Linked DNA regions of Homo sapiens: all the other regions are linked to region 3. The links are contacts of gene promoters, found by promoter capture Hi-C in blood cells and fetal thymus (Javierre and others, 2016). All regions are on one chromosome and are shown on one strand. The core of a region is centred on a gene start or on the middle of the fragment in contact, and the rest is flanking DNA. Distances in the headings are between cores, read along the strand shown. Region 1 overlaps LYPLAL1-DT (LYPLAL1 divergent transcript). Region 2 overlaps LYPLAL1-DT (LYPLAL1 divergent transcript). Region 3 holds the start of RRP15 (ribosomal RNA processing 15 homolog).

Region 1 (3,936 bases), core at 698-3,197, 870 kb before region 3:
TGTGTAGCACCACGCCCTGGTGTGACATTGAGAGAGAGAATTCTGAAAAGTTTATATTGGCTTAAATTTATAGCTTTCTTTTGAGTGGGGGAAGGGATTTTTAAAAAGGACATTGTAATTTTGTGATGTTGTATTACAAAACCTCTATAATATGAAATAATAGCTATGGGAATAATTATCAGTATATTGTGTTTGGCTCCCCTAAAGCAATATTAGCAGCTCTGTATTTAGAAGAAGAGTGAAGTAGGAAGTTATTAATTATTAATTAATTGATTGACCCATTTAATCGAAGCACTTTTATATCCTGCAAAATGTACAGCTGAGTGTCTTGCAAGAAAAATATATTCAAATATGTGAGCCATTAGAGAAAAATACAAGCTCAAACTCCACTTAAACAGTTGGATTTTGACATAATTATTTGTATAATTGCTTTAAAACTTTATATCTCTTGTTTTCTGGAGAGCAATTTCAAAATGACAAAATTAAATTGATTTCACTGAAGGTTTGGTATGGTCACCAGAAAATGGGTTAAAACAATTATTGTAGCATGATGTGGCACATTAAAGTGAAATGATTGACTACAAGCTAAAAGTTTTAAGACAAACTTAATCCTTGGCTTCTTCTTTGCTGCTCTCACACACACTCTAACATGTGACAAACAAGGCGGAGATTTTTAAAAACATTTTAAAAACTACATCTTGAGTGAGACAGTACAAGTAAACTTGATCAAACTCCTTATATTTATGTTGTGTGAAAGGCTTAACTATCAACACAAAATCAGGTTTTTAGCTTTCTTCTAAGTAATACTTTATATTGAAAGTAGAGTGGACGAAGAAAGAGCCTTTACACACCCTAAACAAGCTTGAAAGAGATGCACAGATATCTTTCCAGCCAGGGCGGGAGGGGAGATCTATGAGTCAAGACTTGCACGCTGCCCAGGCTGGCACTGACAGTACATAAATACCTTCCTGTACTATCAGAATGAACTGAAAGCAGCCTTAATTGGCTTGATGGCTTTGTTTGCACATGTAAAATGCAAAGTAGCAATTGCATGTCTTCTAAAATAATCTTGAAATTCCAGGGCTGTCTTCAATTCAATGAGCTTTTTTAATCTCTGTAATCATAATCTTATTCCAGATAGAAGACTAGGACATTGGACATTTCAGCAGGCATTTTAAAAAGTAGCAACACTAATTTTTATGCCAAGTGTAAGGATTATTCTTTAGAAATAAGTGAGACATCTTAAAGAGAACTCACTGATGCCCAAATTCTATCTTTTTGCCATGGTTGTGAGATACAAGGAAAGAGCAGCAGCTGGAAAATGAGGCTGGTATATAGCCATTTACAGAGAAAGACTCATTTTGAGTACAAAGAACTGCATCTGGAAAGAGGATAAAGTGGTTTCACAGACAGCACCCAGTAGTTTGAACAATAGAAGAAAATAGGTACCATCACTCAAATAAAATCCACATGGGCAAAAGTTATACATTGGACTTCTTGACCAGCGTTAATATGTAGCCCACACTTTTACTTAGGAAGACAAAAGACAGGCTAAGATTTAGAAACTCAGATCAGAGGCCTTTTTTCTATTTTTTTTTTTAACATAGGAGTGACATGTTCATATACGTAACAGGCTAGCTGTGGCACATAGAAATAACAATAAGAGTGAATGAGAGGCTATAAGAAGACACTCATTAGTAATCTTTTTCTTTTTCTTTCTTTTTTTTTTTCTTTTGAGACAGAGTCTTGCTTTTTTGCCTAGGCTGGAGTGCAATGTCTCACTGCAACCTCCACCCCCCAGGTTCAAGCGATTCTCTTGCCTTAGCCTCCTGAGTAGCTGGGACTACAGGCATGTGCCACCACACTCAGATAACTTTTGTATTTTTATTAGAGATGGGGGTCTCACCATGTTGGCCAGGCTAATCTCAAACTCCCGACCTCGGGTGATCCACCCACCTCAGCCTCCCAAAGTGCTGGGATGATAAGCGTGAGCCACCACACCCAGCCCTTCAATAGACTGAGAAGGATGGGAGAGAAGGCAGATTGGAAAGGTTGAATGGTATAGGACTTTGTTATCCATTTGACTTGGGGATGAGGTATAGGAAATAATCTAAAATGGCTATTTTAAAGTGTTCTGGTGAAGATATTAACAAGTATAAAGAATACAGACGAAGAAGCAAGTGTAGAATGAAGATAATTAGTTTAACTTTCGGTGGGTTTGAGGTGTTAATGGGAATTTGGTGACAGCTGGGAATTTTGGTCTAAAGCTCAGTTTGGGGATAGAAATAAATTTTGAGAGTCATTAGCATATAGGAATCAGAGAAAACTACAGGAATTGAAAAATCATTTGGGGAGAAAATTTGTAGGAGAAGAAAAGATAACTTAGAAATCATTTTTTTAAACCCACATTTAAAAGCTAGATCAAAGAAGACAAATTAGTGAAAACCTCTCAGGAGGAACCATGAAAGTAGAAGGAAATATAGTGGAATGTCATGAAAGCAATGGAGACAGTTGTTTTGAGATGTAGGTAAACAACTGTGGGGTGCTATAGAAGGATGAAATGAATCCATAGGATTTAGCAGGTAAGGAAGAGGTGACCAGAAAAGTTTCTGAGAGCAAGTTCAGTAGAAATGTGGGACTCAGGGTCAGATTGCAGTGACTCGAGTTGGGAATCTGGAATGAGAAAGTGTACACAGCGAGTGTAGTCTATTCCTTTAAATAGTTAACTTGTAAAGCCAAGGAACAGACAGGGCTGGAAAAAAAGGTATTTTAAAATATGTGGATGATGCTATCTTATTATAAACTGACAAAAGAAGGCAAAGGAGAAGAATAAACAGAACAATCATGTGCAGGAACTCAAAGATGAAAGGGGAAGGGAGCCAGAACCTGGAAGAGCAGGGCTGTGCTGCCTCTAACACTAGAAAGGGAAGAATGGGTCAAGAAATAGAGGTAAATCTGAATGTGAGAATAGATTACACCCTGCAATGGCCATTTGCTGAGAATAAAAGAAATAGAAAACAGATTAGAAGCTTAAAAACATAGAGGTTTAAAGGAAAAGAGAACTGAGTAAGAATAGGGAATAATTGCTAATTCACTGTAAATACAAACAGAACATTTAAAGGAGCTAATCAACATTGTCATCAAATTTGTACCAATAGCTTCTGGGAAAAAAAAAAGAAGAAATAAACAACGTATTGATCTGTTTTTGGAAATAGCAAGGCAGGAAGTCAAGGTGGGGTGGAGGTATTAATGAGACTGGCGAGGATGTAGTACTGTATGGTTTAAATAGTAAGAGAATTAAAGCCAGAAAGGGCAAACAGACAGGAAAAATGATGAGGCAATAAAGTGTGTAGATCTTCAATGGGGTCTCTGAGCCAATTTAGTGGGAATGAAGGAATAAGAGAGATGAAAGGACAAGAAATGACATATTAAAACATTGAAAGTTAATTATTTCAGAGGTAAGATATTATGATGCAGAGTATGGTAGTGTGAGAATGCCCTAGACTGTTAGGGTTTTAAGGGTGGGGAATAGCAAGGATATTCTGTGTCCAAAGTCAAAGAAATGGGGACAGGCTTGAATAGCGCTCATGAGGCCCAGAGAAAGGGGAGGTCCAGCTAGAAAGGAAGCAGTGATCTGTCTGGAACAGTAGCTGTGTGCTGAAATTTAAAAGAGAAAGATATCTATATTTCTTTTTTAAACTGATAGACTGAGCTAATTACAGAAGGGTTTGAAAACCTATTGCGGGATGAGAGCTTTTGTCTAGTGGACAATTGGAAACCATAACGAAATGTTAAGCAGCAGGATGCCATGAAGAAAGTGATGTTTTTGACACATTTACCTGGATGGAGACTGTGGAGGTGATTTCAGAGAAGAGGAGTCTATACCTTCAGGGTGTCATCAAGAGGCTCAGAATACAGGAGATGGAGGGATCTGAG
Region 2 (3,666 bases), core at 30-2,529, 810 kb before region 3:
AACTGCAGTATCAGTTGTAATACCTCCTTTTTATCTCTCATTTTATTTATTTGGGTCTTCTATCTTTATGTCTTTGGCTAAATGTTTATCAATTTTATTTTTTTAAAATAAGCCACCTTTTTGTTTAATTGATATTTTGTATTGTTTGTTTTGTTTCAATTTCATTTATTTCTGCTTTGATCTTTATTATTTCTTTTCTCCTACTAATATTGGCTTTGGTTTGCTCTTTGTTTTCTAGTTCTTTAAGATGCATCATTAGGTTGTTAATTTGAGGATTATCTGCTTTTTTGATGTGGAGTGCTTATTGCTATAAGCTTTCTTCTTAGTATTGCTTTTGCTGCATTCCATAGGTTTTGATATATTGTGTTTCCATTTTTGTTTGTTTCAAGGAATTTTTAAATTTTATTCTTAATTTCTTCATTGACCCACTGGTCACTCTAGAGCATATTGTTTATTTTCCATGTGTTTGTATAGTTTCTGATATTTTTCTAATTATTTATTTCTAGTTTTATTCCATTGAGAATAAAACTGGAAAGATGAGACACTTGATATTTTTTCAATTTTTTAATTTTTTAAGACTTGTTTTTTGTTCTAACATGTGATCTATCCTTAAGAATGAGCCATGCCTTGAGGAGAAGAACGTGTATTCTGCAGCTCTTAAATGAAAGATTGTGTAAATATATATTAGGTCCATTTGGTATATAATGTAGATTAAGTCCAATGTTGTTGTTGGTGGTGGTTTTCTGTGTAGTGGTTCTGTCCAATGCTGAAAGTGGGGTGTTGAAGTCTCCAGCTAATATTGTATTAGGGTCTATCTCTCTCTTTAGCTCTAATAATATTTACTTAATATGTTTGAGTGTTCCAGTGTTGAATGTATATATATTTACAAGTGTTACACCCTCTTGCTAAGTTGACTTCTTTATCATTATATAATGACCTTCTTTGTCTCTGTTTATAGTTTTTGTTTTGAAATCTATTTTGTCTGATGTAAATATAGCTACTTCTGCTTTTTTTGTTTCCATTTTCATGCAATATTTTTCAGTTCCTATATTTTAAGTCTAAGTTAGTCTTTATAAGTGAAGCGTGTTTCTTATAGTTACCAGATTGTTAGAGCTTGTTTTTTTATTATTGTTATTGTTCAGGCTCTCTATGTCTTGTGATTGGAGAGTTTAGTCCATTTACATTCAATGTTATTATTAGTAAGTAAGGACTTACTACTGCCATTTTGTTATTTGTTTTCTGGGTGTTTTATGTGTGCTCTTCTCTTTCTTCCTTCCTTCTTCCCTGTATTCCTTTTTGGGAAGTTAATTTTTTTTGGTGGGTTGTTTTAATTTACTGATTTTCAGTTTTTTGTGTATCTGTTGTAGGTTTTATGATTTGAGGTGACCATGAGGTTTGGAAATAACATCTTAGAACTCATTATTTTAAACTGATCACAACTTAGCACTGGATACAAAACAATCCAAACTCACAACAACGAAAGAGAAAACTAATAAAAGCTCTACACTTTAACTTAATCCCCCTGCTTTCTAACTTTTTGTTGCTTCCATCTACGTTTTATTATACTATGTCTTAAAAGTTGTAGTTATTATTTTTGATAGGTTTATCTTTTAGTCTTCGTATTCAAGATATCAATAGTTCACGTACCACAATTACAGTGTTATAATATTGTGTGTTTGTTTGTGTACTTACTATTACCAGTGAGTTTTGTACCTTCAGATGACTTCCTATTGCTCATTAGTGTCCTTTCATTTTAGATTGAACAGCTCCCTTTAGCATTTCTTGTAGGGCAGTTCTGGTGTTGATGAAATCCCTCAGCTTTTGTTTGTCTGGGAAAGCCTATTTCTTCTTCATGTTTAATGGGTATTTTCACTGGGTGTACTCTTCTAGGATAAAAGTCTTTTTTCCTTCAGCACTTTAAATATGTAATGCCACTCTCTCCTAGATTGTAAGGTATGTTATTTGTGTCTTTTCTCTTGCTGCTTTTAGAATCCTTTCTTTATCCTTGACCTTTGGAAGTTTGATTATTAAATGTCTTGAGGTAGTTTTATTTGGATGAAATCTACTTGATGTTCTACAACCCATCTATACTTGAATTTTGATATATTTCTCTAGGTTTGAAAAGTTATCTGTTATTATCTCTTTGAATAAAATTTATACCTTGATCTCTGTACCTCCTCTTTAAGGCCAGTAAATCTTAATTTGCCCTTTTGAGATATTTTCTAGAACTTATAGGCAAGCTTCATTCTTTTCTATTCTTTTGTTTCTTTTGACTGTGTATTTTCAAATAGCCTGATTCTTTCTTCTGCTTGATCAGTTCTGCTGTTGGGAGACTCTGATGCATTCTTCTGTATGTCAATTCAATTTTTCAGCTCAGAATTTCTACATGTTTCAAAAATTATTTCAGTATCTTCGTTAAATTTATCTGATAGGATTCTGAATTCCTTCTCTGTGTTATCTTAAATTTCATTGAGCTTCCTCAAAATTTCTATTTTGAATTTTCTGTCACTCTTGGATTGATCAGTGGTGACTTTTTCAGTTTGTTTAGTGAGGTCATGATTTCCTGAATGGTCCTGATGCTTTTGGATGTTTGTGAGTGTCTGGGCATTGAATAGTTAGATATTTATTGTAATATTTGCAGTCTGCACTTGCTTGTACTCCTCTTGTGGAGGGGTGATGCAAGCTCCACTGTGACTACCACACTGAGACTGTGCTGAGTCACACCCAAAGATAGCACAGCACTGGGTCTTGCTCAAGACCCATGGTGACCACTGCCTAGTTACTGCCAGCGGAAGGAAGGAGTCTCCCCCAGGTTACTGAGCTGCACTGCCTGGGTTGGGGGAGGGGTGATGCAAGCACTCCCTTGTCCACCTGGCTGGTGTCTCATTAGGTCAACCCAAGTCTACTGCCTTCTAGCCCAGCACGCACCAAGACTTGCCCAGGAATTGCAGTCCTTGTCGCCTAGACTGCCTTTGAGGTTTATGTAGTATCCCAGAGTGCTTTGGCCCATGGTAGTGGGGCTAGCCAGAACTCTAGTTCCAACCACTGGGAAGGGCAATTCCTCTCTTGCTGGGACGGATATAAGGACTCCCTCCATGGGCACTGGCTGAGTTCTGCCTTATCTTGTTTTCTACTGTGGCTGGGCTGCACTGAGTTCCAATGCAAAGTCCCACATCACTGCACTCTCTCCCCCACAAGAACACAGATCCTCTCCGCAGCATCAGCAATTCAAGACTATCTTTCCTAACCTCTTCAATGCCTCTTTCTTTGATATGATGTTAGAACCTGGTACTGTGATCACTCACTTGATTTTTGGTTCTCATAAAAGTGCTTTCTTGTGTGGATAGTTGTTCGATTTAGTGTTCCTGTAGGGGGACTATTGTTGGAGAGTTCTATTAGGCCAACCTGCTCTGTGTCTTCCCCTATAGTTTCTTTTTGACTCAGTTACATTCAAATTTATTTTTTACACTTTATAGAAATATTAGGGAGGTTAAAATTTATCCTTTATTTACTGAGCTCTAATTTAACAGAATTGAAATTGTGGTCAGAGAATGTATTATGTTTGACACTAAGTCTTTGAAATTTATTGAGATTTGCTTTAAAGCCTAGTGATATGCTTAATATCCCATTCTATTCCTATGTGGAGGAATCATAAGGTGAGAGACA
Region 3 (3,694 bases), core at 37-2,536:
AGGGTTGAGAAAAAATAAAGCAGGGCAATAAGTCAAAAAGTGAAGAAAAGAAGGCAGGAAGAAGAGTAGTGGTGGTACGTTACATAGGGTAGTCAGGGACAAGTCTCTCTGGTAAGGCACTGGATCAGAGGCTGGTGAGGGAGAGACATGCCAAGCATTTGAAAACTATTCTAGGCAGCGGAGCCAACAAATGAAGAAACCATGGTGTGGGAGCATGTTTAAGGTGTTAAACACAAGCATACCGGTATGGCATGATTACAGTTAGTGGTTTGTGAGGGGCATATTGGCCTATGACAGACAACCTGGCCCAAATCATACAGCCTAAGGATTTTGGATATTATATACTGAGATGAGAAGCCACTGGATCATCTCAAACAGACAGCGGGCATAATTAGAAATACGTTATAAAAGAATAGCTCTGTCTGTTTTTTGGGTATCAGCTGGTACAAAGGAGCAATAACTGGGCAGTAGGAAGTCAGGGATTACCTGCAATTCCTTGTAACCTAATAAGCTGGTGCCAAGAATGATGGTAAAGAGGAGCAACAGACACAGCATGGTTGAAAGCCTCAAAAACACATCCTTCCTTCCTTTTATTATCAAGCGTCTCTGAGAGACATAGTTATCAAACACTACCAGTTTTTAATCGACCTTAACCACCAAACTCTTCTTTCATTCACTATTATTTAGTCTCTAAAACACGCACACATCTACCGCACAAAAAGTCAAGTACACCCCCTTCTTCCTCTTACCTCTTTTAACCTTTTGCTTCTTACACCCTATGAGACCCATTCTTCTCCTGTTTTCAAGTACCCTCTTCCTTTCACCCTTTGCTACTGTAAGTTTCTCGGTAGCTGCAGGTGTTTCACCCATTTTATTATAATTAATAATGGTGACCCTGAAAATACCTAGTAAAAGAATGTGGAAACTCAAAATTACAGTTGACAGCGTTACTTCTCTGAACACGACTTCCCCAAGCCTCCTCACTAAGCCAAAGTCGCCCCTCTGAAGTGGTGCCAAGATAAAACCCAGGTGGCTAGCAGCAAATGAAGTCGCAAGCGCTGCTTGACACGAACTCAGCCCCGCCTTTCCTCCCAGACACCAAAGCTCAGCCCTACCACATTACCTTCACTATCAGAAGTGTCTGTGGCCTCGTCTTCCAGCACCGACGCTACGGCTCCAGTTACCATTTTCATCTTCTTCTTTGGGGTCTTTTTCAGGTTTTCTTCCTCACTCACACGTGAGTCCGGAGCGGCGGCTGCCATTTTTCTGCGCCGGAAGCGTCACCTGACAGTTGCGTCCGGTGGCAACCAGAGGAACTTCTGCATTTAGTGCCGGTAACACAAGGTTCCGGGGCGGGGTCGTCTAGCCCAGAGTTCCGGGGCCGGAGCCTCAGAATGTGACTTGGAGAGAGCTCTGAATGGCTCGGTGTGTTTACGCGAAGTCCGTTCCAGGACGAAAATCAGCGGCTGAATGGCCTCAGCCGACTCCTCCGCTAGCTCGCCTGTGCCCTGGTCCTCCGCCCCAGTGCGTCCCCAGCCCGTCCCCAGCCCAGCGCGGTCCACTTTGATTTCCTAGCCTCGGCGGCTTCCCTTGTCTGCTGCCTTAATGTTGGTTTAGTGTCCTCCTCAGGTGTCTCTTACGTGCCCACTGAACGCCGCAGCAGCTAGGACGCGGGACAGATCCACTGGGGGCCGATAATTAGAATACGATCGTATCATCCCCCCGCCCAAGATAACACGCGAGACCTTTCTTGCAAACCGAATAGACTCACCTTCTTTCCCTGGGGCGGGTGTTGAATCCAACCGCACCCTTCTCCCTCGGACCCGGCTGGGGCCTGGAGGGTTTCTGGCGCCCGACTGCGCAGTGCAGACCGAGGGTGCGAATACCTTGCTATCCGCGCGAGGATCCTGCCTCCCACCCGGGGCTAGCTTTTCTCTGAAGTTAGCCTCTGTCACCAGCTCCTAGTTCCATCGAAGCACCTACCACAGTCGGCCTTCATTTTCCCCCCTAAAATGTTGGCTTCTCGCAGGAGGGGAACGTATTTCATTTACCATGTCCCCTCAAGGTTAGCAACAGAAGTTGGCCTGAAGTGAATTTTCCAAAAATATTTTTGGAAGGGATGAATGAATCAATGAATGAGTGACAGAATATAACTATTGACAAAGTTAATGACTCAGATGGATAATGCAGCAAACCTTTACTGGCTAGACTTGTTCTAAAGGCTTTCCCCAAACTTAGCGTTTTCCCTTTCCCCTCTTAAGGAGGTTCATAGATTGTGATACCCATAAGTCAAAAACAAAAACAAGAATCCTCATTTTGACATATTCCAGTAGATGTTTATGTAGGAAATAAATATATATTCACATCCTAAAAACTCAATACAACATTTTTAAACTTGGTTTTTAATTTTTTTGTCTTTTAAGAGAGAGAGGGTCTAGCCGGGTGCGGTGGCTCACACCTGTAATCCCAGCACTTTGGGAGGCTGAGATAAGTGGATCGCTTGAGTCCAGGAGTTTGAGAACAGCCTGGCCAACATGGTGAAACCCCATCTCTACTAAAAATACACAAATTAGCCAAACGCAGTGACGAGTGCCTGTAGTCCCAGTTACTCGGGAGGCTGAAGCAGGAGAATCGCTTGAACCTTGGAGGCGGAGGTTGCAGTGAGCGGAGATCGCGACTCTGCACTCCAGCCTCGGCGACAGAGCGAGACTCTGTCTCAAAAACAAACAAACAAAATCTACCACCACCACCACCAACAACAAAAAATTGTGCAGAAAAAAAATGACATTTTGAATACAGTTGGTAAGAGATGAGATTCCAGTTTAAACCTTTAAAAAGTGCAGGTATTGACCAGGCGTGGTGACTCATGCCTGTATTTCCAGCACCTTGGGAGGCGGAGGCGGGAGGATCTCTTGAGGCCAGGAGTTAAGAGACTAGGCTGGACGACATGGTGAAACCCCGTCTCCACTAAAAATACAAAAATTCGCCAGCCATGGTGGTGAGCACCTGTAGTCCCAGCTACTCAGCTACTCAGGAGGCTGAGGTGAGAATTGCTTGAACCCAGAGGGGCGGGGAGGGGCAAAGATTGCAGTGAGCCAAGATGGCAGGTATGGTGGCTCCAGCCTGTAATCCTGGCTTCTCCAAGGCTGAGATGGGAGGATCACTTGAGTCCAGGAGTTCGAGGCTGCAGTGAGCCATGACTGCACTACTGCATTCCAGCCTGGGTGACAAAGTGAGACCCTTACTCTTGACAAAATAAAAAGGGGTGCACTTTAGAGGTGCCCTTTAGGATGCTGCTGATGCCCAGCAGCTCTCACCATCCTGCTCAGTGTGATCCTTTCATTACCACTGTGTCCTGATCTGGAACCTATTTTTTTGCTGTCTTTCATAGCTAATGCTTGCTTTTGCCTAGGGCTAAATGTAAATTGGAACAAGGAGTTCCAAATAAAGTTGGGAATGCACTGGAGAAAGTTGTAGAGAAGGAAGCAAAGTTAAAAAAAAATGATTGCAGTGGTTCAATGGAAAACATGTTCCTGCATATTAAACACAAAGTTCCTGCATTAATGTTAGTGTTATTTAGTGATCAAGAAGTGATGTTTTGTGCATTTAACATGTTAATGTGAGTTTACGTATATATAGAAATTTTTTTTGTGTTTAGTTGCAATTTAAGAAATTGCCTGGAGGGTAGGAATGG

Evidence for each region. The method cuts DNA at HindIII sites, captures the fragments that hold promoters and counts their contacts. A CHiCAGO score of 5 or more calls a contact.
Region 1: a contact is called between a fragment that was not itself captured here and the fragment with the promoter of RRP15 in region 3, in 1 of 17 cell types (non-activated CD4 T cells). The highest score is 5.0, in non-activated CD4 T cells.
Region 2: a contact is called between a fragment that was not itself captured here and the fragment with the promoter of RRP15 in region 3, in 1 of 17 cell types (total B cells). The highest score is 6.6, in total B cells.

The regions. Positions count from the first base shown.
Region 1 is chr1:219,157,168-219,161,103 of GRCh38, reverse strand. All of the region lies in intron 1 of LYPLAL1-DT (LYPLAL1 divergent transcript), which reads left to right. Among named protein-coding and RNA genes, the nearest start is that of LYPLAL1-DT, 15 kb to the left of the region's middle. The HindIII fragment of the contact is 2,168 bases long and covers 864-3,031 here.
Region 2 is chr1:219,088,210-219,091,875 of GRCh38, reverse strand. All of the region lies in intron 3 of LYPLAL1-DT (LYPLAL1 divergent transcript), which reads left to right. Among named protein-coding and RNA genes, the nearest start is that of LYPLAL1-DT, 84 kb to the left of the region's middle. RefSeq lists an enhancer at 2,605-2,654. The HindIII fragment of the contact is 1,926 bases long and covers 317-2,242 here.
Region 3 is chr1:218,282,885-218,286,578 of GRCh38, reverse strand. RRP15 (ribosomal RNA processing 15 homolog) reads right to left here and starts at 1,286. Exons shown (of 5, transcript NM_016052.4): 1 at 1,124-1,286. The coding sequence starts at 1,262. RefSeq lists enhancers at 1,029-1,308, 1,839-1,908. The HindIII fragment of the contact is 12,027 bases long and covers 1-3,694 here.